Regions from separate parts of the Homo sapiens genome. Here region 2 is linked to region 1. The links are contacts of gene promoters, found by promoter capture Hi-C in human tissues and cell types (Jung and others, 2019). All regions are on one chromosome and are shown on one strand. Each heading gives the region's core, a stretch centred on a gene start or on the middle of the fragment in contact. The rest is flanking DNA. Distances are from core to core; before and after follow the strand shown. Region 1 holds the start of MGAT3 (beta-1,4-mannosyl-glycoprotein 4-beta-N-acetylglucosaminyltransferase). Region 2 has its middle 4.9 kb from the start of ATF4.

Evidence for each region. The method cuts DNA at HindIII sites, captures the fragments that hold promoters and counts their contacts. A contact is called where the count stands out against the background at its distance.
Region 2: a contact is called between a fragment that was not itself captured here and the fragment with the promoter of MGAT3 in region 1, in 4 of the 25 tissues and cell types used here (H1 embryonic stem cells, IMR-90 fibroblasts, dorsolateral prefrontal cortex and 1 more).

Annotation. Positions count from the first base shown.
Region 1 is chr22:39,455,754-39,458,453 of GRCh38, reverse strand. It overlaps MGAT3 (beta-1,4-mannosyl-glycoprotein 4-beta-N-acetylglucosaminyltransferase), which reads right to left and starts at 1,442. Exons shown (of 2, transcript NM_002409.5): 1 at 897-1,442. RefSeq lists silencers at 317-446, 457-726, 1,457-1,516. The HindIII fragment of the contact is 12,980 bases long and covers 1-2,700 here.
Region 2 is chr22:39,524,151-39,526,850 of GRCh38, reverse strand. No RefSeq gene overlaps it. Among named protein-coding and RNA genes, the nearest start is that of ATF4, 4.9 kb to the right of the region's middle. RefSeq lists enhancers at 2,231-2,280, 2,381-2,430. The HindIII fragment of the contact is 7,295 bases long and covers 1-2,700 here.

The sequences.
Region 1 (2,700 bases), core at 193-2,692:
GCGAATCTGGACTGGTGTGTCCCAGGAATGAAGTGGGGAACCAGGGAGGAATCCCACTGGGGTAGTGTGTCTGCCCACACCCCATCAGGGGCCTTCAGGGGCATCTTCCGGGGCTGGGGGTCATCCGACCTCAGACCACTAGGTCTGGCCGCGCGGCATCCCTTCCTGCTGCACCCCAGCTCAGGAACCCCACCATACACACACCCAGGCGCACTCCCCTCCCCACTCCCGGTTCCAGAACTCACTATTTGCAGATATTTATAGCGCCCTCCCTCAGCCAGGTTCCCTCCCCCGCCCTGGGCAGAGCAATGCAAGGAGCCGGGGGCCCCCACCCCGGTAAATGGCCGGGGGCCCTCTCCACATTTGCCTCTGCCTGGTCCCCAGGGGTAGCTACGGCCGCAGCCCCCGCACCCGCCCAGCCCCCGACTGCGCTTGGGCCTCGGCTGCCGCCGCCGCAGTCTGGGGTCGGGGGTGGGGAAGGCGGGCGCGGAGGCCTCCCACCCCAGCCCCGCGCCGCGCCGGAGGTTGTGGGGGAGCCGCGCCGGAGGCTGGGGGGTGCCGCGCACAAAGCACGGCTCGAGCCCCGCGCCTCGGGGACGTCCCCCGCCCGGCCGTGGGAGGGGGTCGGGCGCTGAGGCTCTGCCCTCCGGGGACCGGGGAGCTCGGAGGAGCGGCGGGTAGGGGGAGGGGGCCCGCGCCGAGCGGCTTCCCCGGCATCCCGCCCCCACCGCGGCCTCCGGGCCCCCAGCCCCAGTGCGCCCGCGCCCGCCCCCTAAGGTCACGCTCGGGGAGTGGGCCGCGGAGCCGGGCGGGGGGCGCCAAGCGCAGCGCGGGAGGGCGGGCAGCGCGGGGATAGAGGGGCCGCGGCGCCCCCCAGGACGCCGGGGTCAACTCACCCATCGCCCGCTGGGTCTCAGCAACGGCGGCAGCAGCGGCGGCGGCGGCTCCGCGGCCCCCGGGGTCCCCGGCGGGGAGATGCTGGCGTCCGCCGCAGCCTCTCGCCCCATCCCGGGCTCCGGCGGCAGCGGCTGCGGCGGGCGCCCGGCATCGCAGGCAGCGCGGCCCCGGCCCGGCCCCGATCCCCTCCCCCCACCCCCACTTCCACCCCGTCCCGGGGACCCGGCGCGGCCGCTCGGCTGCACCCCGGGGCGGCGGCGGGGGCCCGGCGAGCGGACGGGCGCGGGGGAGGGACCGCGGCGGGCGCGCGGGGGGCGCGGAGGCGAGGCCGAGCGCGGCGCGCAGGGGTGCCCGCTCCCGCCGGCTCAAGCGGCTCCGGCCCCCACCCCGCCCCCTCCGCAACCCCCTCCCCTCCCCCGCCAGCCGGGCTCCGCCGCCGCGCCGGGCCGGGGGCGCCTCGCACCGCAGACTCCGGCCGCCGCCGCCCCGCGCCGCCCGCGCGTGCTGGATCGAGTGTGTGCGTGTGCGAGCGAGTGTGTGTGAGTGCGAGTGTGCGCGCGCCCCTCCTGTGACCGTGCGTGCGCCGGCCCACGGCCCGGGGCGGCCTGCGCGGGGGCGTGTGCGGGGAATGCGGGTAGTTCGGAGTGCGGGCCTGGTGTGCGTGCGGGGCAGCAAGTCCCGTTCTGTGTATGCGTGGACGGGTGCGTTCCGCAGCGTGCCCGGGTCGGTGTGACTCCGTGTGCCCGAGTCTGTGCCTGTGTGTGCATGGACGTGCAGATCCGTGTTGCGGTGTGTGCGTGGATGCGCCTGTGCCCGCGTGAACCTGGGCCGGGATTTCGCATAGGCATCTGTGACCATGTGCAGAGGCCTGGGCCTGTGATGTGTGCACGGTGCCGGGCCTGTTACGGTGTCTGCAGAGTCTGTGTGTCTGCTTGGGGCGTGGGTGACCGCTGTACACCGGCCTGTGTCCTTCCGTCCGACCCCCTCCGTCCCTCACATGCCCGAAGCCACCTGCGCACTCCTGGGGTAACTGGGGGGGCCTCCCCTCCCCCGCCCCCCTCACCCGGCCACCCTAGGCCCGGTCGGCCCTGCCAACCCTCTTGAGCCTACTCTCCTGCCACTTGCCCACCAGCGGTTCTCCGAGGGCCCACCGTGTCGTGCCCTGGCTCCTCGTGGCCTTGCTCTAGGCCATTCCTCTCAGGGCTCAGAGGCGTCCCCCACGTGTTTCCCGCCTTTCAAGTGGTTCCGTTCTGGGGCCTACAGAGCAGCCACTTCCTCCCGCGGTGCGAGGCACAAGGCATTGTGGGTACGCAGCAGACATCTCTGCGCCGCCATCGTCGAAGGTGCAGGGATGCGCTACCTATTCTATATCCCAGCGAATGTGCTCCAGAATAGTCCCAGAGGCCTTTGCTGAACCATCCGGGCTGCCTAGGGCTGGTCTACCTGCTCCAGGTGCCTCCGTGCCCAGCTTCATCCATCCTTGCTGAGGAGGCAGAGTGATCCTACTCCAACATTCACTTGAGCAGGTCACTCTCCTGCCTGCACCTTCAATGGCTCCCACTTGCCCTCAGCTTAAGTTCAGTGCCTGGGCGGGGCACAGGGAGCCCCTGGTGACCTAGTCTTGCCCCCTTCTTCAACGTCACCCTCACTGCTCTTTTCTTCCTGGAGGCTCTCTCTAAGCAAGGGTGGGCAAACCATTTGCTTTAAGAGATTGATTGTAAATCTTTTAGGCTTTGCCAGCCATATGGTCTCTGTCCCAACTACTCAACTCTGCCATCGTAGCATAAAATCAACCATAGACAA
Region 2 (2,700 bases), core at 11-2,510, 69 kb before region 1:
GGGACTCTGCTGAGGCCCAGCTGCAGGCTCAGAGCTTAGCCTGGGCAAAGGCCTCCGCCACAGGCAGTGGGACTGTGGCACTTGGTGTGTGCCCCATTCTTTCCTGCCAGGCTGACTTTTTTTTTTTTTTTTTTTTTTTTGAGACGGAGTTTCGCTCTGTCCCCCAGGCTGGAGTGCAGTGGCGCCATCTCAGCTCACTGCAAGCTCCGCCTCCTGGGTTCAAGCCATTCTCCTGCCTCAGCCTCCTGAGTAGCTGGGACCACAGGCACCCACCACCACACCTAATTTTTTTTGTATTTTTAGTAGAGACGGGGTTTCACCATGTTAGCCAGGATGGTCTCGATCTCCTGACCTCGTGATCCGCCCACCTCGGCCTCCAAAAGTGCTGGGATTACAGGCGTGAGCCACCGCGCCCAGCCTGCCCGGCTGACTTTCATGGGGTGTTCTCATTCTCTGTCCACAACTCTCCCCACCCCTCAAAGCCCAGCTGGGAGGCCCTGCTCTCTCTTCTGAAGCTGCCACTTTCTACTTGGTCTAAGCATCCACCTTCCGTTTCCCAACTAGGCTGAGAGCCCCCACCCCACCTCATGGGGCACCTGGGCAAGGGTGGTTGGCACTTGAGTGTCACTGCAAGGGCTTTTTCTTTTTTCTTTTTTTTTTTTGAGATGGGAGTCTTACTCTGTCACTCAGGTTGGAGTGCAGTGGCGTGATCTTGGCTCACTGCAACCTCTGCCTCCTGGGTTCAAACGATTCTCCTGCCTCAGCCTCCCGAGTAGCTGGGATTACAGGCACGTGCCGCCATGCCCAGCTAATTTTTTAGTAGAGATAGGGGTTTCACCATATTGGGCAGGCTGTTCTTGAACTCCTGACCTTGTGATCCACCTGCCTTGGCCTCCCAAAGCCAGGGACTTTTTATTTCTCCCTGGCCTCTTTGAAATAAAATCATGCTCTTCCCATGGTTTTCCCCATCTCAGGAAATGGGCCCTCCATCCTTTCTCTTGTTTGGCAGCGGGGGGGTTCCCTCTCTTCACACCCATATCCTGGCCGCCTCTCCTTGCCAATCCCAGCCCAGTCCCCTGCCGGGCTGACCCCTGCAACTCCCTAAGCACCAGTCTTAAGGAGCATGCCCAGCATGTCCAAGCCCTACCCAGCTGCTGTGTCACATCTGAATGTGACACGTCACCTCTTTCTTCTTTTTAGGGTCCACCTGTCTCCTTTACCAGAAGCAAAGCTCCATGAGGGCAGGGATGTTTATCTATTTGGCTCACTGCTGTAGCCAGCACCCAGACAGTGTAGTGCAGAGCAGGCACCCACTCAGGACTAGTTGTAGAAAAGATGAAGGTCGTTCTCTGCTCTCCACAACCTACAGCCTTGTCCCAGACACAAAGCAGGAGAAAATGCTGAGTGCTGTCTGCTCCCGCCTGTGAGGTCCCTTCCTATCCCCCAGCCCCGGGCCCCTGGTCACTGGGTAAAGCCCAGCTCCACCTCTGACCTGGTCAGCCTAGGCTGGGCTGGCCAAGGCCTGGCAGGGGCCACAAGTTGCCACATGCAGGGTGGTGGCCAGACATCAACTTCATCTCTGCCCCCTCTTCCCGTACCCCTTATTGTGCTGGGCTCTCCGGAACAGATATCTGCCTAGCCAAATCCAGCCGGTCTGTCCAGGCCACTATCACTGCCTATACCACCTGCCCATGGGCCAGTGTCCACCCATAGGCCAGACTTCCCAAGGGGGTGCCTAAGTCTGGGTCTTAGCTGCATCAGTAAGAGGGTTACAGTCATAAGACCCTCCTCACAGCCTCTCAGGAGGACTCTGAGCTCATCACTGGAAGGCGCCTAGAACCTCAGAGCTCTTTGAACATTTTCGCTGCAGTCATTTTTGCTATTTCCCAGGCACTGCTGTAAGTCCTGGAAATACGGGAATGAACAAGACAGCAAAATACCTGCTGCCATAGAGTGAGCTTATATTGTAGTTAGGGAATGGAGAACAGAAAGTTCATCTGTATACAGATAAACTCAATGGAGAAAAAAGTTACAAAAAAACAGCAAGTGCAAGGCTCTGAGGCAGGACCAAGCTTGGCAGACAGATGGAGAGAGGCCGGGAGCACAGTGAGGGGAGGAGGTGAGGTCAGGGAGAAGGGCAAATCCACTGTGACCTGAGCTGGTGCCTTCTGGGTGTGGGAGGACTTAGCTGCAGGGGCCTGGGAAGGGCACAGCCCCAGCATCCTGGCTCCACACCACTGGCCTGCACTGCCCTTCTTGGTGCCTCAGTTTCTCGTCTGCCAAATGAGGGCCGACCCCCACTGGCACTGGATGACTCTGATGCTCCTGGCCACACCCTAACACCTATTTAGTACCTGGATGTGGATGGAGGCCCATGGCCTTTGGAGAATTCTAGAATCTCAACAGGAAAGACCTCAAAGAGCACCAGGTCCAAGACCCATGTGTGATGCCCACTCCCAGTGGTGCCTCGGGCCACTTCTCCACAACCAGCTGCATGCATTCCATCAACAGTTGGCTCTCAGGTGACAGTCTATGCTGGGCACCAGAAAGGTCACGTGGGCCCCACCATGCAGGTCGTTACGGGCCATTTGTTTCCAGCTCAAGAGGCAAAATGAAGAGCCCAGACTGGAGCCGTCCTGGGTTCAAATCCCAGCTCTACCTCTTTGCTCAAAATCCTCCTAGGTGAGCTGGGCGTGGTGG